6 separate regions of the Homo sapiens genome follow, and all the other regions are linked to region 1. Evidence: promoter capture Hi-C in human tissues and cell types (Jung and others, 2019). All regions are on one chromosome and are shown on one strand. Each heading gives the region's core, a stretch centred on a gene start or on the middle of the fragment in contact. The rest is flanking DNA. Distances are from core to core; before and after follow the strand shown.

What was found. The method cuts DNA at HindIII sites, captures the fragments that hold promoters and counts their contacts. A contact is called where the count stands out against the background at its distance.
Region 2: a contact is called between the fragment with the promoter of ARPC1A here and the fragment with the promoter of CLDN15 in region 1, in 1 of the 25 tissues and cell types used here (heart left ventricle).
Region 3: the fragment with the promoter of SH2B2 here is called in contact with the fragment with the promoter of CLDN15 in region 1 in 1 of the 25 tissues and cell types used here (dorsolateral prefrontal cortex).
Region 4: a fragment that was not itself captured here is called in contact with the fragment with the promoter of CLDN15 in region 1 in 1 of the 25 tissues and cell types used here (IMR-90 fibroblasts).
Region 5: the fragment with the promoter of ORAI2 here is called in contact with the fragment with the promoter of CLDN15 in region 1 in 1 of the 25 tissues and cell types used here (dorsolateral prefrontal cortex).
Region 6: the fragment with the promoter of ALKBH4 here is called in contact with the fragment with the promoter of CLDN15 in region 1 in 1 of the 25 tissues and cell types used here (dorsolateral prefrontal cortex).

What each region holds. Positions count from the first base shown.
Region 1 is chr7:101,235,965-101,240,504 of GRCh38, forward strand. It overlaps CLDN15 (claudin 15), which reads right to left and starts at 1,838. Exons shown (of 5, transcript NM_014343.3): 1 at 1,401-1,838. The coding sequence starts at 1,617. FIS1 (fission, mitochondrial 1) reads right to left here. Exons shown (of 5, transcript NM_016068.3): 4 at 4,178-4,283; 5 at 3,508-3,939. The coding sequence ends at 3,842. RefSeq lists an enhancer at 3,956-4,499. The HindIII fragment of the contact is 32,734 bases long and covers 1-4,540 here.
Region 2 is chr7:99,324,602-99,329,050 of GRCh38, forward strand. It overlaps ARPC1A (actin related protein 2/3 complex subunit 1A), which reads left to right and starts at 1,297. Exons shown (of 10, transcript NM_006409.4): 1 at 1,297-1,403. It overlaps LOC105375421 (a long non-coding RNA gene), which reads right to left and starts at 1,207. Exons shown (of 4, transcript XR_927798.3): 1 at 913-1,207. RefSeq lists an enhancer at 863-1,422 and a silencer at 1,398-1,577. The HindIII fragment of the contact is 7,349 bases long and covers 1-4,449 here.
Region 3 is chr7:102,285,453-102,289,389 of GRCh38, forward strand. SH2B2 (SH2B adaptor protein 2) reads left to right here and starts at 1,416. Exons shown (of 9, transcript NM_001359228.2): 1 at 1,416-1,642. RefSeq lists silencers at 734-1,313, 1,384-1,923 and enhancers at 3,074-3,163, 3,834-3,883. The HindIII fragment of the contact is 12,688 bases long and covers 1-2,068 here.
Region 4 is chr7:99,455,591-99,459,682 of GRCh38, forward strand. The region is part of intron 2 of ATP5MF-PTCD1 (ATP5MF-PTCD1 readthrough); the gene reads right to left. It overlaps CPSF4 (cleavage and polyadenylation specific factor 4), which reads left to right. Exons shown (of 8, transcript NM_006693.4): 8 at 842-1,783. The coding sequence ends at 910. It overlaps ATP5MF (ATP synthase membrane subunit f), which reads right to left. Exons shown (of 4, transcript NM_004889.5): 3 at 3,557-3,673; 4 at 2,605-2,765. The coding sequence ends at 2,737. Among named protein-coding and RNA genes, the nearest start is that of ATP5MF, 8.5 kb to the right of the region's middle. RefSeq lists an enhancer at 132-934. The HindIII fragment of the contact is 8,805 bases long and covers 1-4,092 here.
Region 5 is chr7:102,431,860-102,436,424 of GRCh38, forward strand. ORAI2 (ORAI calcium release-activated calcium modulator 2) reads left to right here and starts at 1,716. Exons shown (of 4, transcript NM_001126340.3): 1 at 1,716-1,802; 2 at 4,366-4,474. RefSeq lists silencers at 1,176-1,315, 1,346-2,125. The HindIII fragment of the contact is 14,608 bases long and covers 1-4,565 here.
Region 6 is chr7:102,461,744-102,466,112 of GRCh38, forward strand. It overlaps ALKBH4 (alkB homolog 4, lysine demethylase), which reads right to left and starts at 3,120. Exons shown (of 3, transcript NM_017621.4): 1 at 2,971-3,120. The coding sequence starts at 3,093. LRWD1 (leucine rich repeats and WD repeat domain containing 1) reads left to right here and starts at 3,241. Exons shown (of 15, transcript NM_152892.3): 1 at 3,241-3,417; 2 at 4,074-4,308. The coding sequence starts at 3,338. MIR5090 (microRNA 5090) reads left to right here and starts at 3,999; the gene lies at 3,999-4,083. RefSeq lists enhancers at 2,863-3,512, 3,642-4,168, 3,792-3,891, 4,169-4,369 and a silencer at 3,022-3,451. The HindIII fragment of the contact is 23,818 bases long and covers 1-4,369 here.

The sequences.
Region 1 (4,540 bases), core at 588-3,087:
TTCTGTAAAAGTTTCCCCCTACTTCCCCACTGTGGAAAAATGTAGGCAGAAGCACCTAGCCCAAGGCCCGGAACCTGGTCACCCTCTACCCCTGTGCCCTGGGGACTCTGGCACCATCTTTCATGCAGTTGCCAGGGGTGCCCCTCTCAGGTGTGCAGGCTCACAGCAGAGCCCCCTCCTCACAGCATGATGTGTCTGGGAAGTGGGTGTAGGGGCTGCCTCCAGTGTCCCTTCTGGACACTCAGAACTCTGGGGTTCTGGCCCAAGTTGTACTCAGCTTTTATAGGGTTTTTTTTGGGGGGGGGGCCCGCCGGCCCTGCATACAGTCAGTCCTAGAGAGATGGATGAAAACAGGAAGCCTCTGCCGCTGCCTCAGGAGGGGCTGGGAGTAGTGGGGGCACAGGAGACCCACCCAGGCCCCCTAACTGCTCAGAGCAGCTCCAACATCCCCGGGGGTGAGCTCTCAAGCCCCGCTTCACAGCCAGTGTCGCCCTCGGCTCCTTCCCTGCCACACGGTGCCTGGTGAGTGGACTGGCCCTGAAGGACCCAGGAGGGCGTGCAGCGGCACCACACACAGTTCACGGTCGCCAGCGCTCAGTCTCTGGCATAGGGCAGACGGAAGGGAGACTGCCCCGGAGAAACAATGGGGCGGCCTCATCTTAGCGGGGAGCAGGGAGCGGGAAGGTGCCGCAGCCACAGAAAGAACTGCCCTGGGCCCAAAGAGCTGTTGGCTCCAGCCCTCTAAGACCCCAGAAAGACACTGTCCTGGAAGCCCCACACACCTGCACACACACCGCCTCCTTACAGCGGACGCTCAACCTGCAACTTGCAAGACGCCTCCCTTCACAGGGGCCCTTTATAGACATCAGCCGGACAAGGAGACCAGTGCCCCCCGACAGTGAGGCTGGGGAGTCTGTGGAGCCTGGAAGTTGATCAACCTCTAAGAATCCAAGATGGGGCCTCCTCCCCCTGCCCACCCCAGCAATCCCACCCCCAAAACATGCTCAACCGTACTGAGTGCCTATGTGTGTTAACATCACGCTAACATTCTGCACTTTCTCAGTCACCTGTGAACTGGGACTCTCACCCTAACCCTACAGGTGGGAGATGAAGCTGGTTTCATCATTTGCCCACAGCACAGGGCTGGGAAAGGGGGTCTGATTCTGGTGCCTGCACCTGTAACAGCTAAAAGCGCCACACTAGCGCAGGGGGCCACGTGTGGCAAGGTCTTCACTCCAGTTCTAGGCATGGGCCGCCCCCAGCACTCCTGGCTGCGGGAACTCAGACCCGCAGAGCTTAATTCAGGGCTCCCTGCATCCTCACGGAAGTACCCGCCCTCCCCTGGGGTCTCTGCAGCTTCCCCGCCGCCCTCTCTCCCTGGAGCGCTCCCCACCCCATACCAGAGAGGGCCAGCATGGACGGGAACTCCCAGCAGTTGTAGACGCCCAGGGAGTCGGTGGCACAGCTAAACCAGAGGTTCTCGAAGATGGTGTTGGTGGTGATGACGTTCCCGTGCACAGTGGACACTCGCCAGTAGCTGTTTGGCAGAGTCACCCCCAGCATCAGCAGCCCCACAGTTGCCATGAAGAAGCCAAAGGTTTCCACAGCCATCGACATGGTGGGATGCAGGACCCTGGGGGGCTGGTGCCCCAGAGAGGGGGAGGGGCAGAACCCCTAGGGAACTGGAAGGGGCTGCGGCTAAGGAGGGTTGTCCAGGCAGGCTGGGGTGGAATCAGCCTCAGCCTCTGCCTGCCTCTTCCTCGGGCTCAGGTCCGTCTCCACTTTCTGCCTCCCTCCTGCTCTGTGGGTCTCTCTGCTTCCTGGCAGGTCAGAGGAATGAGCTAAGCCTGCGCGCGGCAGCTGTTGACGAGATGGAGGGAATAACCGAAACGGGCCAAAAGTCCACCCCCTCCCCCCAGCCTCTGGGCTGCCCCGGGCTCCCCGCCCCACGAGGGTGGGGGGGGCAGACTTACCCTGGAGCCACTGACGGATACAGCCAAGGAGGGGCCCCCAAGGGAGGCACTGGGAACTGAGGGGAAGCGTCTGTCTCTGACTCAGCTTTCATTGGGGGCCAAAGAACGGAGTAAGAGGGACAAGGAGTGAAAAGATGACAGAGACAGACGTGAGAGCAATAAGGGACAGAGACGGAGAGAGAATGAACAGCAGCCTTCAGTGGTGAAGGACGGAGGAACCACGAGAACAATCTAAGATACTCAGACCAAGGGGTTGGGGCGTATGAGTCTCTTAAGGAAGATCAAGCTGGAATGAGGGGATGGGAGGGTAGGAGACCCACAGCTCTGGGCTCCATCCAGCCTGGAATGGAACTCGGCCCCACCATCCATTCACCAGGGAACTCAGGCGGGGAGTTTTAGTCCCCTGAGCTTCTGCTCTGTCAGTGACATACCCGACTGCTTACTGCAGGGGCTGTGGTGAGAACTGGGACCAGGGGCCGGGCGCAGTGGCTCTCGCCTGTAATCCTACCACTTTGGGAGGCTGGGCTGAGACGATTGCTTGAACTCAGGAGTTCAAGACCAGCCTGGGCAACACACTGAGACCTCGTTGGGACCAGGGAGTCAAGCCCCCCACACATAACCAGCGCTTGGCACCGGGAACTGTCCTGGATGTGAGTGTCACAGGGCTGAGGCCACCAGGGAGTCGCTCTCACCCAAAACTCAAATTTCCTCCTAAGTTGATCTTTGACTCAGCATCGAGCCTGGTCCTGCTGGCCAACAGCCTGGAGCGTGATCCTGTGGCTAAGCTCTGCAACCTGTTCCCAGTTATCAGGGACTGTCACCCACTCTATTCGTTAATGATGATGGATTAGCAGCCTCTGGTCCCCATCCCGAGCCAGTGCAGAGCACCTGTCCCAGAGCAGACACTCTCATCTCCTGCTCCGGTTCCCTAGGGCTCTGTCCCTGGGGGCCATCAGCGCTGGCTGCGCACCTCCCTGGCCCCACGGCCCTGCTGGGCTTCTCCGGCCTCCCCTCAGGTGTCTCCTCCCTACTCCTGTGCTGGCCTGGGCTGTGGAACGAGAGGTATGCGGTGAAGCAAAACAGGCCCATGCCGAGCCTGGCACGAGGGGGCGAAGCTGGCTAGGTGGGGCTGAGTCCTGACCTTCCAGCCCACAGGCGAGAGCTGGGGCTCCCTGGGCTCTGACCTCTCCCGGGACCCCCGCCTACTCCATGCCAGATGCAGGATTCCTTCCCCTACTGGGCTCCCCCTCCCCCAGAGGAGGAGGTAGGAGGAAGGGGAGGCCACAGGAAGACAAAGGGAGGGGAGGGTGGGGAGGAGGAAGCCAAGGGGGCCTGCTGTGGAAAACTCCACAGAAGTAGCTGAGTGGGTCAGAGGAGAATGCAGGCCTGAAGCCCGGCCTGGCCCCGAAGTTCTGCCCGCCCATGCTCAGGTCACTGCCTTCTCCCAGGACTCTGGGACCATGGAAAAGCCCCATGTCTCCGAGCTGCCCGGCACTCTCAAGGACATGGCTTCAGGAAAGGGAGGAAGGAAGGGTGTGGGCTCTGGGCTGCGGGGTGGACAAAGAACCCCGTGCCAACCTGGAGGGCAGGGGCAGGAGAGGACCAGGAGTGACGTCTCCGCCCCCTGTGCCCAGCGTTCAGAACCCACCCCTCCCCTCAACGCAGACACGGGGGTTCCCAAGCCACAGCCCCGTTTTATTTACACTCATCCCAAAGCACATGATGGGGCTGAAGGACGAATCTCAGGGGAGCAGAAATTAGCTGAAGGCCACAGAGGATAGAGACGGGGGGCAGGGGGAGAACAGGGAAAGGACAGCGAGGATGGACAGGCCCTCCTGGAGCGTTCTCCGTGGGCTCCCGCGTCTCCTTCAGGATTTGGACTTGGACACAGCAAGTCCGATGAGTCCGGCCAGTCCCGCCACACCCAGGGCCATGCCTCCCACGATGGCCATGCCCACGAGTCCATCTGGGGAAGGAAAGGGACAGTGTCAGGAGCCCGGCCCCTGCGGAAACCCTGACCGTCCCCTTCCGCCAGCCCTGCCCCTCAACAGAGGCACACCCCTACCTGGAGTCGCAGGGCAAGGGGCTCTAAGAACTGGAAGGGGTGGGGCTGAGGGGCTGCCTGGAGGGGTTCATTTACAGAGAGACCAAAGTGCCCAGGCGTGGGGAAGAGCGGGGCTGAACAAAGGGGCCGAGGCTGTCACCTTTCTTCATGGCCTTGTCAATGAGCCGCTCCAGTTCCTTGGCCTGGTTGTTCTGGGGCTCTGTCTGCAGCAACCCGCGGACGTACTTTAAGGCCTTCTCGTATTCCTGCGCTCGGGGAAACGCGCACGCGTCATACACACCGCAGTGTTTTTTTGTTTGTTTGTTTTTTAATAAGAGACGGGGTCTTGCTCTGTTGCCCACGCTGGACGGCAGCGTCGCAATCACAGCCCACTGCAACCTCAAACTCCCAGGCTCAAGCAGTCCTCCCGCCTCAGCCTCCTGAGTAGCCGGGATTACAGGCGTGAGCCACTGGGCCGGCTACACCTCAGTATCCACCACTCCCCCTGCCCACGTGAAGGGCC
Region 2 (4,449 bases), core at 47-2,546, 1.9 Mb before region 1:
CCAGCTTGGGCGACAGAGAAAGGCTCCGTCTCAAAAAGATCACAGCGGGTCTGAAATTGAGAGTTTGACAAGTATACCTACATAAACCTCACCTTACAATACCAAAGGGAAGGAGACAAGCCCTTGGTTGGCCTGGCATGGCGCTGGGCGGCGGCGGGGGGGAGCTCACATCGCTTTGGGAAGCAGAGGCTAGAGGATTGCTTGAGCCCAGGGGTTCAAGACCAGCCTGGACAACATAGGAAAACCTCATCTTTACAAAAAATATAAAAATTAGCCAGGCACAGTGGCTCACACCTGTAATCTGAGGGCTTTGAGAGGCCAAAGAGGGACGATCGCTTGAGCCCAGGAGTTCAAGACCAGCCTAAGCAACACAGCAAGACCCTGTCTCTACCAAAAAATAAAAATTAGCCAGGCGTGGTGGTGTGCACTTGTAGTCCCAGCTCCACGGGGGGCTGAGGCGGGAGGATCGCTTGAGCCCAGGGGTTCCAGGCTGCAGTTAGCTATGATCGCGCCACTGCACTCCAGCCTGGGCTACAGGTTGAGAACCTGTCTAAAAAAAAAGAAAAAAGAAAAGCTCTCGATTAGCCCCATCTGTGGGGGCTGGGGATGCTCCAGAATTTCTAGGGTTCAAGGGCAGCAGCCTGATTGCAGGTGGGGATCAGGGCATTTCTTGGAGGCTGCATCTGCGGGGCAGGCTCTGTCCTCTGTGAATTGGGGGCCTTGCCAAGTTCCCCCAACCCTTTTATCCCTGCTGCGCCATCTTGGGAGCAGGGAACTGCTTGGGAGCAGGGGATTCTGTCCCAGGAAGGGTCGAGAAAGTTCCTGGGGGGCTTCAGGGGCTTTCCACAGAGGGAGCACGGCGGGGGCGGAGGCTCCCTGCAGGGAGCAGCGCTGAGGTAGACTGGCTCTGACCTTGGCTCTCTGAAGGGAGAAAAACTTAATCGTTCTTCAGGTCCAAGAGCTCCAAAGACCCCCAATCCTCAGTAACTCATCTCCTGACAAAAGACCTTGCGAAACTGCCAAAGCGCCACACTTCGGCTCGCGATTGTGAGGAAATTGGTTGAGGAACGGAGTGGGACGCCCATGCCGCTTCGCCAGCACTTGCCAGGCGTTCCGTGGGGCAGCATCTCCTCTGAAGGGCCGCCGACAGTACCACGCCAATGGAACGGCGTACCCTCCTCCACTGCAGCCTGCCTAACCCCGGACTGCGCGCCCGAGCTGTGCGCATGCGCGGACCGTCCGCGCGGTCGCAACGCGCAGGCGCCGTGTCCACTTCCGGGATCTGTCAGCCGCTCCCTCTGGGCTTCCGTCCTCCGCCCGCGCCCGACGGAGCCTGTTCGCGTCGACTGCCCAGAGTCCGCGAATCCTCCGCTCCGAGCCCGTCCGGACTCCCCCGATCCCAGGTAACGGCCAGCAGGGGCGAGCGTCTCACCCTGTCGGCCTCTCTTGTCCAGGCCTGGCGCCGGACTTGCCGCGGGGGCAGTGAGACGGGGGCTCAGGCCGCGGGGCCCCGAGGCTGAGGCGCGGCCGGGTCTCCCTGCCGGGGCCTCCTGAGGGGGCGGGGATCCCCTTTCTCCGTGGATCCCCTGCAGCTTTTCTCAGGATGTTCGAGCTCCTAGCCGCCTCCGATGCCCGAATTAACGGCCCCTTCTGCGCCCCCAGGGTCCTACTTGCACCTCTGCTGGGGGCATTTGTCACCGTCTCTAAAATTGTGTCAAGTAGGAGGATCTCCCGTAATCGAGCGACCCGCGGGACTATTCATCTCTTTAGTGTCTAGAGTCGATCCCTGCATACAGTAGGCGCCCATAGGATGTTTGCCTGCTCTCTAGGGCAGCCCTCAATCCTTCGGTTAATGGGGAACCTTCTCGATCTCGAGAAAAACCTTCTCCCGAGTTCTTTTAAGATTTCCCTGCATGAGTACCGCCTTCCCCCAAGTCAAAATTGCACCCTTCTCGGCGCTCTTATTCATTTAGTGGAATCTTTTATGCCAGTCCTGGCACCACCACTTTGTTGAGTGATCCTGGGAAGATGCTTCTCTGCGCCTGTTTCCTCATCTGCAATAAAAAGATTCTTACCGTTTTGCTAAGAATCAAGTGAGCTTATTTGCATAAATTGCTTAGAATAGTTCCTGGCCGAGAGTAGGTGATCAATAAATATTAGCTATTATTACTGCTTCTGGGCATTCTATGCATATCCGTCTTCCTTTCCTTTTCTATCTCCTCCACTCTCCCCAAACACCAACCCTCCAGACTTGAAGACCAGAATGGTGTCAGCCTTATTTATGTTTCTAGCCCCATCCCGGTATTTACAACACTGCTGGGAACATGATAGGCACTTAATCAGTTATAGCTTAGAATCTTTGATTATAAAGCCATCTGTTCTCCTGCAGCTTTGGAACCTTCTGTCTATGTCAACTCGTAGCTTAAATTGCCGAGATTATCTTAGTTCTGCCCTCTCTCCTCAATTTTATCTAGTCTTGTGGTTTCACATAGGGCCTGGGTTTTCAGGTATCTAAAAACAGAGGAGGGGCATCAGTCAGGAAGGTGTTTTTGTCCTGTTAGGGAGTGGGTAACTGTGGTTGTTGTCTTCCTTTTTTTTTTTTTTCCTGCAGCCTCGACCTCCTGGGCTTAACAGATCCTCCCACCTCAGCCTCCTGAGTAGCTGGGACTACAGGCGTGTGCCACCACACTGGGCTAATTTTCATTTATTTTTATTTACTTATTTTTGGAGATAGAGTCTCACTCTGTCACCCAGACTGGAGTGCAGTGGTGTGATCTTGGCTCACTGCAACCTCCACCTCCTGGGTTCAAGCGATTCTCCTGCCTCAGCCTCCCGAGTAGCTGTGACTACAGGCATGAGCCACTGCGCCTGGCTAATTTTTTTTTTTTTTTTGTATTTTTTGTAAAGACAGGGTCTCCATATGTGGCCCAAGCTGGTCTGGAGCTCCTAAGCTCAAGCTATCCTCCCACCTCGACCTCCCAAAGTGCTGGGATTTTGGGTGTGAGACACCACACCCAGCTTATATGGCTATTTTCTCCCACAAAGTATTCAGAGATCTTCTGGAGTTCATCTGTTAATCACAGTTAAAGGAAGGGACCATTTCGGAAAACTCCTATTTTGGACGCGGAGTGGTGATACTTTGATCTAGTTGTCTCATCCAATGCTGAAACAAATCCTATATAAAGAAGTTTAAAATGGTCTGCTGGTGAGGCTGGTGCCTGGACTGGAGCCTGTCTGAATGTTGAGGAGGGTGTGGTGACCTTGTTGGAGTACTTGATGTTGCTAGATTGGCTAATGAGAGTGATTAGGAACTAGGTGAATCACGGTCTTGAAAACTGACCCTAAACAGGGGACAGAAATGCCCACTTTTGTGGGCATTTTCAAGCTCCAAAGGAGTAGGGCCAAGAATTTATAGCATATGTCAACGTTTCCAAGCTCAGAGGAAACTAACTGGTGGGTTCTATGGTTGGTTTAAAAGCCTTGAGTTGGCCAGGTGCAGTGGCTCACGCCTGTAATCCCAACACTTTGAGAGGCTGAGGCGGGTGGATCACCAAGGTCAGGAGTTTGAGACCAGCCTGACCAACATGGAGAAACCCCGTCTCTACTAAAAATACAAAATTAGCCAGGCATGGTGGCACGTGCCTGTAATCCCAGCTACTCAGGAGGCTGAGGCTGGAGAATCGCTTGAACCCGGGAGACGGAGGTTGCGGTGAGCTGAGATCACACCATTTCACTCCAGCCTAGGCAACAAGAGCAAAACTCCATTTAAAAAATAGAAAAGCCTTGGGTCAAAGGGAGAAAGGGAACCTGCTGGCATGTATTTCAGGCTAGGCTCTGTACTACTTGCTTTCACATGTCTCATTTAATTCTCCTTGTGATCTCAGTGGTATATCCACTTTACAGAAGAAAAAAATGAGATTTAGAGATATCAAGTGACTTGCCCAGGGTTTCATAGCTAGTGTGTGTCAAAAGCCAGGGTTCAAACCCAGCCTCGGCTTCAGAGCCCATGGCTAGCCATACATCAGAATGACTCTGTACTCAGTGATAGATAAAGAAAAGGGGTGGGGGCCGGGCATGGTGGCTCATGCTTGCAATCTTAACACTTTGGGAGGCTGAAGTGGGCAGATCACTTGAGCCCAGGAGTTTGAGACCAGCCTGGACAACATAGGGAGACCCCTGTCTTTACAAAAAACTAAAAAATTAGCAGGGCATAGTGATGCATGCCTGTGGTCCCAGCTACTCAGGAGGCTAAAGTGGGAGGATGGCTTGACCCTGGGAAGCCGAGGTTGCAGTGAACTGAGATCACACCACTGCAGTCCAGCCTGGGTGACAGAGCAAGACCTTGTCTGAGAAAAAAACTCAGAGAGAGAGAAAAGGGATGAGGGGGGAGGGAGGGAGGAAAAGAAAAGGGATGAGGGGCAGGGCGCGGTGGCTCACGCCTGTAATCCC
Region 3 (3,937 bases), core at 166-2,665, 1.0 Mb after region 1:
CGAAGCTTTCATTAAAGTGTCTGCTGGCCTGGTCCTGCGGAGGGAACAGAGCCGAGATGTGGGGCAGGGAAGGGGTCTGCCTGTCTTCCGTGCCCCCGTGGAGGGCAGCACCGGGGTTTTGGGCAGCAGGTGAAGGCTCTGTCCCCTCCACCTTCAACTCTGGAAGCCCCACCTTTCCATCCCTAAGAAGGGTTTGATAAAAACCCTTGTCTGTAAATTAGAGATGGGAAATGGCTCTGGGAAAAGTCAGAGGTCAGTTTGGGCCCGGGAGGGCGACAGATGGAGGCAGCTCCGGCTGGCAAGGAGACCAGGACAGAACTGCCAGAGGTGGGGGCAGGGGACAAGGAGGGAGATGAGGGGAGAAGACACCCAGGGGTCCCCCCCTGCTATCTCCAGGAGCAAGACTACTCTCTTCTCTGAGCGGCCCTTTCCACACCTCTGCCCCCACCGAAGCCCTCCCTCCCCTCTCAGACCCCTTCCAGGCCTGCTGAGCCCCCTGCACCTCTTTCAGGAAGCCTCCCAGAGCCCCCGCGCTGTGCCCTCAGCACCAGGGGTCAGGCTACAAATGCCCCGCAAAGCCCAGCGGGACTGTTTCCTCAGCCCCACTGGTCTCTGCCCTAAAGCAGGCGAGTTCTGGAGCCAGGCAGGGGTGAGGAAGGTGCCAGGGTTGTGGCCCCTCATCGCCCCTCTATGATCTCTGACACCTCTCCGGGTGGCATCAGGCCCCCATCACAGCGAAGGCTGGGTGGTGGGGGCACTGCGCTCAGGGGGGCCGTCCCGCCCTGTGGCCCGGGGGCGATTTCCCGCACCGGAGGGCTGCAGGGAGGGGGCGTGGTGGCGCCCTCGAGATTTATGAGAACCAGGCGTCGACTTCCTCCGTTGCGACATCCAGGCCTCCTCCAGGCTCCCATTGTCCCTGCTGCGGAGAGTCTGGCCACAGCGGCGGCTCCCGCGAAGCACCCGTCAGCGAGGGGCGCTTCGAGGGCGTCCGCGTCCCATACACCCGCCACGCAGGACATTCCCCCGGCCCCACGCTCCGCGCTCCCGGGGCCACCACCACCGCGGGCTCGAGGGGTGGCCTCCACGAGGAGGAGTGGGAGTCCCGCGCCTGGCCTGGGGCCGGCTCGGCGACATGGGGACCCCCGCCCAGATGGGGCGACTCGGAGCCGGCTCCTAACCCCTCTCTCCGGGCCCCAGGACCGGGCAGTCTCGGCACCGCAGCTGCGGGGAGCCAGCAAGCACCGGCCACCGGCGCCGCTCGGGCTCCGCGGATGGCCGGGGGCGGGGCCTGAGCGGCGCAAGTGGGGGCGGGAGGGGGCGGGGCCAGGACGCGCGAGGGGGGGCGGGGCCGGGGCTCGCGGCGGGGGCGGGGGCGGGGCGGGGCCGGGAGGCGCGCGCCTCGCGGGCGGAGGGGCGCGCCGCGCTGGGGCTGGGCTTGGAGCGCGCGGAGCTCGGCTGCCAGAGAGCCGCGCGGGGGACGCGCCGGGACCGCGAGGAGCGCAGGAGCCTTCGAGGCGGTGAACGAGGGAGGGAGCCCAGTCCGCCGCGGGCCATGAGCCACCGGGCCCGGGGAGCCCGGCCGCGGTCCGGGCAGCGCTCAGCCGGCGCCCCAGCCCGCTCGGCCGCAGCTGCGCGCCTGTAGGTATGGCCTCCTTATACCCAGTTCCTCGCTCCCTGGTCCTTCCCCCGGGACCCCTGTCTGTCCCCGGGGACGTGCGCTGTGTGCGCACCGCTGCCCGAAGGAGAGCGGCCGCACGCGCCTTGGTCCGCGCGTGTCGTCTTTGTGTGCGCGGGTGGGAGGGAGGAGGGCGCGCGAGGGAGGGGAGGCGCCCCCGGCTGGGATCTGCTCCCCGATCCCCATCCCGGGCGGGGCGGGGAGCCGCTGGAGGGGCCGAGCCGCCTCTGGAGCAGCTGCGCCCCCGCCCCCTGCTAGGGCCCCGGCCGGGTAGTGGGGCGAGAGCAGCCGGGTCCTTAGAGGAGGGGTCTCTGGTTGGGGGAAGGGGTGCCCAGGTCTCTTCCCTACGCTGGGAGCGCTGGGAGGGGGCGTCAACCTAGAATGAGGGTGAGGGCCACGGGATGGGATCGGGGAGGACCTCCTCCAGGCCACAGGCACGCCCTCCCTTTGGCCCAGGCCCCCCTTTCTCGACCTGCCCAGCCGGGGAGCTCCCCGGAGCCCCCGATTGCCGGGAGGATCGTGGAGGGTGCCCAAGAGGCCGGCGCCTTTAAGAAGGGGCGGGTTCGTGCCCTCCATTCAGGCCCTTGGGCCTCGGCCATTGATGAACCTGCGGGCTGCGCGGGCCGGAACCGCGCCAGCCCAGCGGGCTGAAGCCGGGCAGAGGCAGGGACGCATCCTGGCCCCCTGCAGCCCCGAAGTGGGGGCCTTCAGGGAGGGAAGTCTGCAGTGACTGGAGCCTCTCAGGAGCCACGCAAGGCAGACCGGGCAGCCCCAGGCGAGACTCTGAACACGAATAAGCCAGGATCTACGTGCACTTCGAGCTAGTGCAAGGGAGAGCCTCAGGCTAGGCTGTCAGACCTGGGTGGAGCCCTACCAATGCCCCCGAGCCAACATCACCTACCCTGTAAAATGGGATGGTGCTGCCTGCCTCCTGGCTAAGGGACCGGCAACTCCCGGCAGGAATTGCGTCCCAGAGTCAGGTCCCTGGAGCTCCTCTGGGAGGACTGGGGGCAGGGGGTGTGGTTTCCCCAAGAGGTTTTGACTGCCTCTTGAGCTGAAGCCCCCACTACTGTGTCCCACCTTGAACTCTCCCAACCTCTTCCCTCCTGGCCTCCCCACTCCACGCAGGAAGAGGTTGGGAGAGTGACCTAGAACTTTTCAGCTCCAGGAGCTTTGGGAGAGGTCTGGTGGTGGCGGTGGTGGCACTTCTTTTAGGCTAGTGTGGATCAGGGCATTTTTGGGGGTCTCAGAGACAGTTTCCCACCAGCTACTTCCTTAGAGGTCTGTCCTACCAACATACAAGAACAGCCCCACCCCGTGGCAGGCCGGCTTCTGATGCTGCTTGGTTGAATGCTTCTAGGTAATCAAGGGTTAATGCACACGCTTTTCTTTTTACCCTTGTTGTGAAAAATCTGTCTGAAGTTTCTAAATCCCTCTTCCCTACTTAGCGTGAATCTCCTAGGGAGGACTTCTATACAAATACCCAGGGGTGGGCTTCCCTTGGGGGTCTTGGAAGTGGGATCTCCACCCAAGTGATCCTGGGCCTCCCAGGGCTGAGCTTTTGGTTTCAAACTTACTTGTGCCAAGCTAAGGGCATCAGGATCGCCGTTCGTGTCATCTTTACAACAATCCTGTGGGTTTAGTGCTATTATTATCCCCACACACTTAGGGAGGGGAAGTGACTGGCCCAAAGTCCCGCAGTCAACGAGCCAGGCCTCCCAACCACTCCTCTCTGACAAGAGGCTGGCACTTCTTGCCCTGCCTACCCAGCCTGGGTTGCAAGGAATTGGGGGTTTAGGGGCTTCAGGCCTCCTGGCTGCTGTCTTCCCGGGGCTACGCTCATTCTTACTGTCCAAGTGAGGCCAGGGGACTGGTCAGAGCCCTGGGGCCTGGGGAGGTTTCTCTTCCCTGCTCACCTGGCTGGGTGCCGTTTTATGGCTATGCTCTGTCTAGGGGGATAGCAGGTGTGACCCCTCAACACGAGGTCACAGCCCACACCTGTTTGGGCAGAGCAAGGCAGGGCATCGCTGTGTGGGCGTGCAGCATCTTTTGGTTCCTCTGGGTGAAGCAGGGTTTGGGCCCCATTCTCCACATACTTCCGGGCCATCTGAGGGTAGCGCCCACCTGGGGGGTGGGGAGGACAACCAGCCAGGAGCTCACGGTTCGGTGGAAGAGACAGGCCACAGCCATGTGGTGTGGTGGAGGGGCAGGGGGCAAGGGTGGAGGTGGGAAGAGGATCAAGGGGCGTTCCCGAGGCCTCTG
Region 4 (4,092 bases), core at 899-3,398, 1.8 Mb before region 1:
CCCTCAGGGCAGCAGGGACTCAGGGGTGGGTGTCAGTACAGAGTCAGTGCCCCCAGCTGCCTCCTGACCCTTTTGTTCAGTGCTTGAGGCTGCCGTTTTAGGAGTCATAGAGTAAAGAGAAGCTATGGAAGGGCCTGGATAATCAGGACTGGGATGAGGCAGGGTCAGGGCTGGATTTGTCATGTGGCTCTGCAGGCTCCCCTTACCCAAGTCTAAGCATCGTCCCATCTCTCTGATCCTGTAATCAAAACCTGTCCCCAAGGTAGCTTAGGTGTGTCACAGCCACGAGGGAAAACGTTGGGTACAGCCCACCCTCTGTCCCCAGCAGTGGCTCCCCAAGGGAGGGGAGGCTGGGACACTTCTGATGCTGTTCCCTCCCATCTCCTGCCAGGGAACCCCAGACCTTGGCTCAGAGGTAAGTGACTGGCCTGTGGTGCAGAAGGGCTTGGTCCCCAGACGGGGTGGCGGAGCTCAGGTGCCACGGGCTTCTCTTTGTCCTGCTACCCACTTGGGAGTCCCTCCCTGGGCAGGCCATGTGTCCAGGTGGGAGAGTTGTGGGCCTGAAAGAGCAGGTCGCTAGCAGGTCGCCTTCTGGCGGCCTTGTTCTCCCTTGCATCTGCGGAGTTGCTGGCTAGTTTCTGCACCACTGCACTTTCCATCCTGAGCTCCCTCACCCTCTAATTTGAAAGAAACTCTGTACCACTGAGAATTTCAGAGTCATGTCCCGACTGGGGACTTGGTGGATGATTTGGGATTTGGTGGGCACTCCCTTAGTTGAAAACTGCATTTGAACAGTGTTGTTGTCTGTCTCTCCTCTTCCCCCACTTCCTGCTGTTCCCAGTGTGGCGAGAAAGGACACTACGCCAACAGATGCACCAAAGGGCACTTGGCCTTTCTCAGTGGACAGTGACAGCAGCTGGAGCCAGCTCCGAGCAGCCCGGGGGCCCCGCTGTTGGGAGTGTGCATTTAACTGTTTCATGCGCTTGTTGGCGCGACTGTGGCTCGAGCTGGCCCGCAGACACGTGGGTTTCATCACTCTGAGGGGCCACGTCTGTTAGTTTCCTATCATTTTGCCTTAGTATTTTTTGAAAAAGGGACATGTGTCCTGTGGGTCCCTGCAGTCGACATCATGTTTGGCTGGGCATCGATGCCTCCTTTCTGGGACTCCCGGCACAACTCCCCTCATCCAGGGAGGGAGGCAGCTGCTGGGGAGGGGCTTGGCTAGGTAGTTCTGTGTGGCGGTGGTCATTCCCCTCATTAAACACCAGTTCTTGGTGACGCCAGGGGCTGGTAGGTCATTCAAAGCTGTGGCCAGCTCACGCCTGCTTCCTCCCTCCCTGCCCTGCTGAATCCTAAAGCTGTGCCTATATCTGTGATTTGAATGAGGGAGCCCTTTGGGGCAAATTCAGGTGCCCCCATTGCCTCAGGCTGGCCCTGGTCCCAGGTGGCAGCGGTTGAGGAGGGGTACAGGGCTCTCAAGCCTGAGGTTTTCTTCTCTGGGCTTAATTTTCTCTTGGGGTACGTGCCTGACAGTGTTTAAGGTGTCCGTTGAACTGGAGTTGCAGACTTTTAAATAGATGACCCCTTCAGATCATCTGTGCCTACCTCCTGCCCATCAGGCGTCTACACTGTCACTCAGACACCTGTGGCATGTGGAGGAGACTGCCCTGTCCTGAGCCTGGAAAATGTGAAACTGTCTCCTGCAACCTGCTGGGCATGTGGGCCTGGCTGTGTTCAATTGCAAGAACAATTTTTATGAAATGGATTAAAGCTTGTTTTTTAAGCCATGTCTCATTAATTAAGGGTCTCATGCCAACCCTTTTACACTGGCTGCAATCACGGCGTAGCTTTCTTGTCCCTTTCAACAAATGTCAGCCTCACAAAGGGAAGTGCAGCTGCCCAGAAGGCCTGCAAGCAGCTGGTCAAGTCTGGGAGTCTGATCTGTGGAGCCAGCAGGCAGGTCCTCCACCTCAGCTCAGATGTCTGGTGGCACCTATTTCTGGGGCACAGTATCCCACCCCCAATGAGGCTCTGATGAAGAGGAAGCAGGGAGGGGCCGCCATAGCCCCTCACTTTTCCCCATCACCCCCAACCCACTAAGCCTCCTGTTAGAGAAGCCGCCTCAGCCGGAGGGCCACAATCCCTGCAGCCTGGGCGTGAGTGCTGCCTGAGGTCTCTCCAGACAGTGCCGGGTCACCTCACCCTGTAGCCCTTGATGCCCCAGGGTGATGCAGAAACACAGGATGCGGGCCATCCCTGCCTGGAGCCACAGGACAGCCGGGGTGGGATCTGGCGCTCTCAGGTACGCAAGCCTTTGTGTTACACCATAAAGGGCCAGCCAACTAAAGGCCAGAATGTCTGCAAATGCACCTGCCCACAGCACTCATGGCAAGGGACGGACTTCGGCACTGCTGCTTCGGGAAGGTCTGGATGACACCCTGCCCTCCAGGGAGCTGGGACACGACCAGAGTGGTGGTCTGGGAAGTCCACAAAGGCCTTCACCGGTCAACGGCCTGGAAAGACGACCTCCCCCCACCTTGTGCCACAGGAGCCCCTGGAACATGGGATAATGGCTACGGCAGACAGGCAGGCAATCAGCACACGTACCAGTCATGTTTTATTTGGAGGTTAATTCCTATTAGGATATGAAAGGATTCAGCAACGATTGAGATTGTGTTCCTCACGGAGGGGCTCGGGCCAAGGTCGTGGGGTGGGGGGGTGCAGAGTGTGTCCTCTTCAGTGGTATTTGCGGAGCCGCTCGTGCTCTGAAGTCAGGAAGGCAAGATGGTAAGTATCTTAAAAGGTTACAGTGAAGGCACAGCATGGCAGGAAGCAGGCTGAGATCACACAAAGCCTTCCTGAGAATTCCCTTCAGAGATGACCCATGACCCGCCTGCCGGTGTCTCTGCAGAATCAGCAGACCCGGGGGGCACAAAGACACCTCAGGAGCCAACCTGCCACCTGGCCAACCACTTTCTTTCCAGAAGGAACAGAGGGAACACACGCTCAGACAAACAGCCCCAGAGAACCCGTCCTTCAGAGGCAGGACCGCCCTGGTGCCACAGAATGGGAGTGAGGTGGGGGTAGGGGGTGTACACTACACTGTCAGAAACAGCCTAGTCAGAGGCTGCCACCGACACCTCCCGCCAATCTCCCACCAGACAAGCTCCTCTCAAGCCTCAGAGCCGGAACAGCCATGCTTTTCTGGGGTACCAGATTATCCCACTCAACTCATTTCTCTTTCTGCATTGGCTACTAGGAAAATCGAGCCAAATTTTCACAGTGTGCTGTATTTTAAAGAATGCTTCTAAGTACTCTCTTTACCCTGGCTTCATCTTGATTTTCCTGTGTTCTCTTTGTCACAATTTTCTCATTTCAAACAATATCCCACATACTGTACTCTGATAGGTCCCTCCAATTCTTTTAGGTGGAAACATAAGGAACTTTAACTAAAGGTCCCTCAGCCTCAGAAGAAGGTGGGCTGCTGTATCTAATGAAATCAGTCACCACCACCCTCTCATGGGAACTAAAGGCAAGACGCCGCAGAGGCACTCACTGAGATGCTTGTAGGAAAAGGAGTAGCTAAAGAGCACGTAGCATGCCAGCACCATGGTAATCCCCGAGATGCTCCCCTTCTTCACATTGATGTACTTGTTGTAGTACCGGTAGTAACCTGCAAACGCAAGAGGCGCTCACTGCCCTGCTGGGCTTCACATTTGAGTGAAGTTGAGCACACAGTTGAGTCTGGCTGACATTCAGGGACCTAGTCCTGCTCTGGCTGTTTAAGCCCCTCGCCCTGCATTCACTGGCTGATAAAGATGACAAGCACAAATGCCAGTAAGGTCTCTCATCCCCATAGCCTGAACTATAAGCACATACCAGCTCCTGAACTAGGCCTACCTGGATTCCACCTCTCCCCTTTGGCTGTGAGCTTATAGCCTCCTGAGTAGCTGGGACTACAGGCATGCACCACCACAGCCAGCTAATTTTTCTTGTGTGGTTTTTTTTATAGAGATGGGGTCTCTCCATATTGCCTAGGCTGGTCTAAACTCGGCTCAAGCAATCCTCCAGCCTTGGCCTCCCGAAGTGCCG
Region 5 (4,565 bases), core at 466-2,965, 1.2 Mb after region 1:
GAGGAAGGACTCCAAGGGACCGTCTGGCACCGCCGGGCTGATAGGAACCCATCTTGTCTGTCTGTGAATTATTCATGTGCTGCACTTCCTGAAAAGAATGCTCCTGTTTGACTGCCTCGCTCGTAAAACCGCAGAGAATTCACCGTTAAAGGTGAGAGGCTCCCTGCAGTAGGGAGTGGAAGGGGCCAGGGCACAGCAGAAACTCTTTGCTGCTGTCTGCGAACAGCATGAGAAGGACAGCACGCTGCACTGAAGTTGGGACCCCAGGGGTCTCGCTGGGTCTGTGAGTGGCAGTGCACTCTGGGTGGCAACCCCCAATTAGCTCAGTGCAAGCTCTTCATGGTGCCATCCAACACCCTGGGCAGGGGCCAAGCAAGGTGGCCCATGCCTCTATGCCCAGCACTTTGGGAGGCTGAGGTGGGAGGATCACTTGAGCCCAGGAGTTCGAGACCAGCAGAGGCAACATAGCAAGACCCATCTCAATTTTTTTAAAAAATTTAAAAATTAGCTGGACATTGTGGCACATGCCTGTAATCCCAGTGCTTTGAGAGGCTAAGAGAGGATTGCTTGAGGCCAGGAGTTTAAGACCAGTCTGGGCAATACAGGAAGACTCTATCTCTAAAAAAAGAATTTTTTTTTTTTTTTTTGGCTGGGCACAGTGGCTCACATGTATCATCCCAGCACTTTGGGAGGCCGAGGCAGGCAGGATCACCTGAGGTCAGGAGTTCAAGACCAGTCCGGCCAACATGGTGAAACCCCATCTCTACTAAACATACAAAAAAGTAGCCAGGCTAGTGGCGTGCACCTGTAGCTCGGAGGCTGAGACAGGAGAATCGTTTCAACCCCGGGGTCGGGGGTTGCAGTGAGCCAAGATGGCACCACTGCACTCCAGCCTGGGTGACAGGGCAAAACTCCCTCTCAAAAAACAAACAAAAACAAATTTTTTAAAAACTACCACGGTGTGGTGGCTCCTGCCTACATGTAGCCTCAGCACTTTGGGTGACTGAGGGCAGAGGATCACTCGAGCTCAGGAATTCGAGGCTGCATTGAACCGTGATCGCACCACTGCAGTCCAGCCTGGGCGACAGAGCCAGACCCTGTCTCAAAAAAATAAAAAAAAAAATCCTGTGAAAACTCGGGCGTGGCCAGACGGATTCTCCCCTCCCCACCTTCCTTTCCCCTCCACTGCCCACCTGCACCCGCCCGCCCTGTCCCCACTCCCCGCCCCTCTACGCAGCCAGCGTCCAATGCTGGGCACCCCCCGAGGCTCACCCTGCCAAGCCTGGGGCTCCCCTTTTGCGCCCGGACCCAGGGGCAGGGAAAGCCCAGCTCGTGGTCTGTGGGTAGCCGGACCCCCGATGGGGCGGTGGGGGGCCTCGCCTTGACTCCCAGAGCTGGGGCCGGGGACAGGAGCTGGGGCAGGAGGGATGCGCGCGGGTCGGGGTCTTCCCACCTCCCCTGCTCCTCTCCCTCGCGCGATCCCGGGGTGGTTCCAGGTGAGGCGGGGACCCCCACCCCCCCACTCTCCGAGGAGGCGCCGCCAGCCCCGCCCCTCCCGGCCCGGCGGGTGACGTGGCCGCGGCTCTCCCGCGGGTGGGTCACGTGTTGGCGGCGCCTGGTTGCCTTGGCAGCGGCTGCGGCGGCCGCGGGGGCGGGGTGGAGGCGGGGCCGGGGGACCCCGCGCGACCGGCGGAAGGAGGGAGGGGGCCGCGCTCGGCGCCCCGGCCGGGCCACTGGGCCACAGGCCACGCGGCCACGCAGTCCGAGCGGGAGCCGAGCCGGGCGGGGCGAGGGCAGCTCCGGTGAGTGTGGCGGCGCGGGGGCCTGGCGCGGGGAGCGGGGTCCCTGCGGCTGGGGGGGCCGGAATTGGACCGGGGACGCTCGGCGGGGAAGGGGACGACTGTAGGCTGCCCGGGCGCGGTCACTACCCATCCGGGGTTGGTGACCTCCACCCCGCGGGATCCCTGGCGGGGTGCGGCGCCCAGAGGATCAGGGTCGGCGGCGCAGCCGGTTCCGGACACCGGGGCGTCCCTGGGGGAGGGACAGGGATGCAGCCTAGCGCCCCTGGGAGGCCCCCTCCCAGTGCGCCTGCTGGAGAGAGACACTCGCCATTGCCGGTGCCCCAGATGCTTAGAGGAAGTCAAACTCCAAGACCGCCCTCTGGAAATGTGTCCAGTAGGCCAGCCAGGAAGAAAAGCTCATCTCTAGAGAGGGGATCGCGTTATTCTACAAGACCTGTTTTCTCGGACTGCTCATTAAAGCAAAAAAAAAAAAAAAAAAAAAAAAGCAACCCCACAAGGTTCAGTCCCGGAGCATCCTCTAGGGTCTGTGCCACCTGACAGAAGTACAGGGCTCCATCCTGCCCCACCCCACCCCCTGCCTGGGATCCAGTGTGAGGCCCAGACTCTGTCCCTCCCCCTGGGCCACCGGGCCTGGCACACACAGTTGGCATTGGGAACATAAAGGATGGATTTGAACCCCCTCCTGGGCTGCTCCTTCGAGACCTGGAGACCTGTCTCAAGACCCAGCTCCAGGCAGACAGACATCGTTTCCTCCACAATCCCACCCACTCTGGGGACATCTGCAGGGCCTCACCGATGGGGCATGGGAGGCCTGGCGGCTCCCAGGAAGCCACCCTCAGCCCTCACTGCCCTGAGCTCTTCACCTCCACTCTCAGACCTGAGCCCAGCCCACCCTTACTGATGGGGCATCCCTCTTGTTCACCCTTCCTTCCTTTGGAGGCCACCAGGCTCTCCCTTGCGTCCCACTCCTGCCAGTCGGCCAGCCATTTCCCTGGGTTGAACTGTGGTCCCAAACCAGAATGATCTAGCAGTGCCCAGACCGTTCCACTCACCAATTTCTTCCATTCTCCTGTGGCTGGACGCCCAGTCATGCTGCCCAGACCCTCTGGCTCATTCCACAGCCCCAGGCTCCAAGTGTCTTCCACCCACATCTCCCTGCCCCCTCCACCCCCCAGGTGGCAGCCAGTCTTCCCTCCATATCTCCTGGACAAGGAGAGCCACCCCACATGTACACCTGGAGTGGCCTTCCCGTCTCTCGGAATCCTTCCATGCAGGCAGCATCTTGTCTTTGAGGAAAGGTCCCTCTTTTTTAAAATTCTTTTTAGAGGCCAGGCGCAGTGGTTCATGCCTATAATCTCAGCACTTTGGGAGGCCAAGGTGGGCGGATCACTTGAGCTCAGGAGTTCTAGACCAGCCTGGCCAACATAGCAAAACCCTGTCTCTACCAAAAATACCAAAAATTAGCCAGGTATGGTGGCACACACATGTAGTCCCAGCTACTCGGGTGGTTGAGGCGGGAGGATCGCTTGAGCCTGGGAGGTAGAATTTGCAGGGAGCTGAGATTGTGCCACTGCACTCCAGCCTTGGTAACACAGCAGGACCCCATGTCAAAAAAAATTATTTTTAGAGACAGCGTCTTACTCTGTTGCCTAGGCTGGTCTCCAGCTCCTGGCCGCAGGTGATCCTCCCACCTTGGCCTCACAAAACACTGGGATTACAGGCATGAGGCACTTTGGCATGCAAAGGGCCGCTCTGTCCCCTCCCCGGTGTTACCTGCAAGCACCTTTTCCTGGCCTTGGTGTGAGGCAGCCAGTCCTCTGCTCCCTGCCCTCCATTGAAGCCTTTAGCTCAGTGGATGAGGATTGCCCCCCCCTCTTTTTTTTTTTTTTTTTTGAGATGGAGTCTCGCTCTGTTGCCCAGGCTGGAGTGCAGTGGTGTGCTCTTGGCTCACTGCAACCTCTGCCACCACACCCAGCTATTTTTTTTTTTTTAAGACAGAGTCTCACTGTGTCACCCAGGCTGGAGTGCCGCGGTAGGATCTCAGCTCACTGCAACCTCCGCCTCCTGGGATCAGGCAATTCTCCTGCCTCAGCCTCCTGAGTAGCTGGGATTACAGGCGCCCACCACCATGCCCAGTTACTTTTTGTATTTTTAGAAGAGACAGGTTTCCACCATGTTGTCCAGGCTAGTCTCGAACTCCTGACCTCTAGTGATCCGCCCACCTCAGCCTCCCAAAGATGACAGGTGTGAGCTACTGCTCCTGACCCACATCCCCTTACCTTGCTCCCCTACTGGGAGGCCATGAATTCTGGCCTCTTTCATCTTGGATCTTTAAGTACCAAGTGCGCTAAGCACCTGTGTGATGGAGGAGGGAGGACGGAGGGAGCAAAGGTTAGCGTCTCACCCCTCCAGTCTCTGTATACTGCGGTCATCAGACCTGCATGCTCAATTCTGTTAACTATGGGGGTGGGGGGAGAGGAAAAATGCAGTTTCCAAATTACAGCATTTTCTATTATGTGGAGCTAACCTACGGATTGCAGCGTTTCTCTGAATTCTCCCCAAGGGAAGGAACGTCCCAGGGATGGAAGTGCTTGGATGCGGTGCTGCTGGCTGCGGATGTGCGCAAGGAGATGGGATGGAGAGCCTGAGTTGGCATTCGTATAAATGACCTGGTAATTGGCATCCCCTGGCAGAAATAGCACAGAACTGTTCCCAGAGGTCTTGTTGGCCAGGGAAGGCTGTGGCTTTGTAGCCTTGTTGAGA
Region 6 (4,369 bases), core at 1,870-4,369, 1.2 Mb after region 1:
ATCTAGTTTCATCCCCAGGACAGCCCCAAGAGGAAGGTACCATAACTATCATGGGCAGGAGGTGTGGAGGTTCTGGCCGGAGTCACCCAGTGAGGACTTCGGAGGCCACCAGAACTCAGCCCTGGGCTCTGTGGCCTGTCTCCTCTTCCTCTTCCATCTCCAGGCTCCTCACACCCTGGGCTGCCACTCACTGTGGGCCGCTGTCTTTCTCTGTTCTTCCCTCCAGGGACCTCAGCCCCTTCCAATGCTTTACTTCCAGCCACCGACTCCAGCTCAGACCCCTCCTGAGATTGGCACTATCTCCTCCTGCTCCTGGGGCCCTCCCACGGGAAACATTAAAACTGGGAGTCCCCCGTGTGTCGGCTGAGCAGGCTGGACTTGTCCGAAAGGCCATGGAGCGCTCTTGAAGGGTTTTAAAGGAGTGACGAGGTCAAATGTGAATTTTAGAAAGATCTGGAGGGGGGAGGGGCAGATATGAAGGGTGGAGGCTGGAAAGCCAGTGAGGAACTGCCCCAGTGCCCTGAGATCCTGGATACCTCACTCTCCTTGTTCCATAGCCATCGGGTTGGGAAGATGTCACCTCCACATGGCCACTGGAACGGGTCAGACTTTCCGCAATTTTTTTCTTTTCTTTTTTTTTGTTTGAGGCAGGGTCTCGCTCTGTCACTCAGGCTGGAGTGTAGTGGCGCTCACAGCTCACTGCAGCCTTGACCTCCTGGGCTCAGGCAATCCTCCCACCTCAGCCTCCCAAGTAACTGGGACTACAAGCACACACCACCACACCTAGCTAATTTTTAAATTTTTTGTAGAGACAGGGTCTTGCTATGTTGTCCAAGCTGGTCTCAAACTCCTAGACTCAGGCGAGCCTCCTGCCTCAGCCTCCCAAAGGGCTGGGATTATAGGCATGAGCCACCGCACCTGGCCCCTTCCACAAATTAAAACTCTTAAGTTCATTCATATTGTTGTACAGCCGTCACCACCATTCAGAACTTTTTCATCTTGCAAAACTGAAACTCTTTCCCTATTAAACAACAGGTCCCCATCTCCCCTTCCTGAGCCCTTGGCAACAACCCTTCTACTTTCTGTCCCTGTGACTACCCTACGTAGCTCACACAACAGGAATCATGCAGTATTTGTCTTCTGTGACTGCTTCCTTAACTTAGCATCGTGTCCCCAAGGTTCGTCCATGCTGTAACATATGTCAAAATGTCCTTTTTTTTTTTTTTTTTTTTGAGACAGGGTCTCACTATGTTGCCCAAGCTGGAGTGCAGTGGCGTGATCACAGCTCACTGCAGCCTTGACCTCCCAGGCTCAAGCAACCCTCCCACCTCAGCCTCCTGGGTAGCTGGGACTACAGGTACGTGTCACCATGTATGGTTAATTTTTTTGTAGAGGTGGGATTTCACCATGTTGCCCATGCTGGTCTCAAACTCCTGGGCTCTGGCAATCTGCCTGCCTCGGTCTCCCAAAGTGCTGGAATTACAGGTGTGAGCCACTGTGCCCGGCCTGTCCTTCCTTTTTAAGGCTGAATAGTATTCTACTATGTGTATGCACCACATTTTGTGGATCAAGTCATCTCTTTTTTTTTTTTTTTTTTTTTTTTTGAGAAGGAGTCTTGCTCTGTCACCTGAGCTGGAGTGCAGTGGTGCGATCTTGGCTCACTGCAACCTCTGCCTCCTGGGTTCAAGCGATTCTCCTGCCTCAGCCTCCCGAGTAGCTGGGATTACAGATGTGCCTCACCAAGCCCGGCAAGTTTTTGTAATTTTAGTAGAGGCAGGGTTTCGCCATGTTAGCCAGGCAGGTCTCAAACTCCTGACCTCAGGTGATCTGCCCACCTCAGCCTCCCAAAGTGCTGGGATTACAGGCGTGAGCCACTGAACCCGGCCCAGGTATCTTGATAGATGCTTGGTTTGCTTCCATCTTTGGGCTGTCATGAATAATGTCGTGAATATGAACATGGGTGTGCAAATATCTCTTCCAGACCCTGCTTTTAGTTCCTTTGGATATATACCCAGAAGCAGGATTGCGGATCATGGGTAATTCTATGTTTAATTCATGAGGCATGCCATGCTGTTTCCATAGGACCTTGGGCACTTTTACCATGGACGTTGGGGCAGTCTTCACTGGCTTACCAGCCTCCACACCTTCATATCTGCCCGTTCCCTTCCCAGGATCTTTCTAAAATTCACATTTGACTTCATCACTCCTTTAAAACCCTTCAAGAGCTCTCCAGGGCCTTTGGGACAAGTCCAGCCTGCTCAGCTGATGCACCGGGGAGCATCTGTGATCAGACCTCCCCCCCCCCACAACCTCTCCAGCCTCATCTCTCTCACCTGAGGCATCACCAATCCACCTTCCTACCCCACGCAGTTTTCTGGGTTGGAATGCCCTTGCAACCAACCACAGTCCTTCCATGCCAGCCCAAAGGCGCTGAGTTCTTTTTCTTTTTTTATTTATTTTCTTTTTGTGAGACAGAGTCTCGCTCTGTCGCCCAGGCTGAAGTGAGGTGGCTCGATCATAGCTCACTGCAGCCTCCAGCTCCTGGGTTGCAGCGATCCTTGAGTTCCTTTTCGTTAGTTAACTGGAATTCACTGTCTCCTTGCCCATTGCAGTCCACGGCCTTCAGGCACCGTTGGACTGGTATTCAGCACCCTCGATCGACCCTTTCCGTGTCATCTCCCTGCAGGCCCGTGAAGCTCCCAGCGCCAGACCCGAGAGGCTACGTCGAGGTTTACAGGCAGATCCCCCCAGAGTCCCCGAGGTGACCTGTAATCGAACCCACCCACGTTCCAGCTCCTTCCCCACTCCCAAGCCCGCTCCTTAAAGCCCTCATCTCCTCACCCTGCATCACCCCTACCGTAAGGGTCCCTCACAGGCTTCGATCCCGGCCCCTATCATGGCCAAGCTGGACCTCAGTTTCCCCAGATGCAGAGCGACGTTTGTGGGCGCGGCCCCTCTCCCACCCCTTACCGCTGGGGGCAGCTCCCAGGGCGGGTCACTGCCGCGCTGCCGCTCGCAGATCAGACAGGTCCGGATGCCCTTGCAACCGCATTCCCGAAGGACTTCGGGGGTCTCGGCGGCAGCCGCCGCCATCGCGCCGTCCGCGTGGCCAGTGCGCAGGCGCGGCCGTGGGGGCCGCTGGGAGTTGTAGTCCGCGCCGGGCGGGGGCACGAGGCCTGGGTTCCGCTTCCTTCCGGTCGTTAACGCCCACGGGCTCGCGCGGCGCCGCCTCCTGGGCTCAGTTACCGCGGACGCCAGTGCCGGGCTCCAGGAGACGCAGGGCGACGCCACACGCCGGGGTGGCCGACTGGGTCAGCGCGGGCTGCGCCTCCTCGCCATGGGCCCCCTCTCGGCGCGGCTGCTAATGCAGCGCGGGCGCCCCAAGAGCGACCGGCTGGGGAAGATCCGGAGTCTGGAGTAAGAGCCGGGCAGCGGGTGAGGCTGTGTCCTCGGGGCCGGGCGGTCGGGGAGAAGAGCGGGGACCCTCCCCAACGGCCCGCTTGTCCCCGTTATCGCCCTCTGGGTTCGGCAGAGTGGTCCAAATGTCTTCTTGTTGGGAGATCGTGGCCCCACCCGCTCGCCGGGAGCCCCGAGGGGCCTCATCCCCTGAAGGGAGCCCGGACAGTTAGGGGCACAGCCTGCCGCTATCGTTAGAGGGCCTGGGAAGCACAGACGAGCCCCCGAAGGATCAGGAAGAGCATCCTAGAGGGGGCTAGGATGCCCCCGAGTCCTAAAGTAGTTGCAGCTTTTTTTTTTTTTTTTTTTTTTTTTTTTTTTTTTTTGTTAAGTGGTGTGGAGTCGGGAGTAGTGGCGCGCGCTTCTAGTCCCAGCTACTCGAGAGGCTGAGGCGGGAGGATCCCTCAGCCCAGGAGTTGGAGGCAGCTGTGAGCTATGATCGCGCCTAGGCGACTGAGTGACACCCCGTCTCTAAAAATAAAGTAACGGGGGGATGGGCGGGGCGGCTACACTTGTACGAGAAATGTCAGGTGAAAAAGCCTTCTGAGGTACCCGGGGCAGATTGGTGTAGGGTGCAAAGCCTGCCCGCCCCCTAAGCCTTCTGCCCCCAACTCCAGCCTGTCAGGATTGGAGCTGCTTTCCGAGCACCTGGACCCCAAACTCCTGTGCCGCCTGACGCAGCTGCAGGAGCTTGACCTGTCTAACAACCACCTGGAGACGCTGCCGGACAACCTGGGCCTGTCCCACCTGCGTGTCCTCCGCTGCGCCAACAACCAGCTGGGGGATGTTACTGCCTTGTGCCAGTTCCCCAAGCTCGAGGAACTCAGCCTGGAGGGCAACCCCTTCCTGACGGTAAGTGGGAGCCTCCCACCAGCTTCATACCTGGGGCCAGGACTCTGTTGGGCTCAGGCTC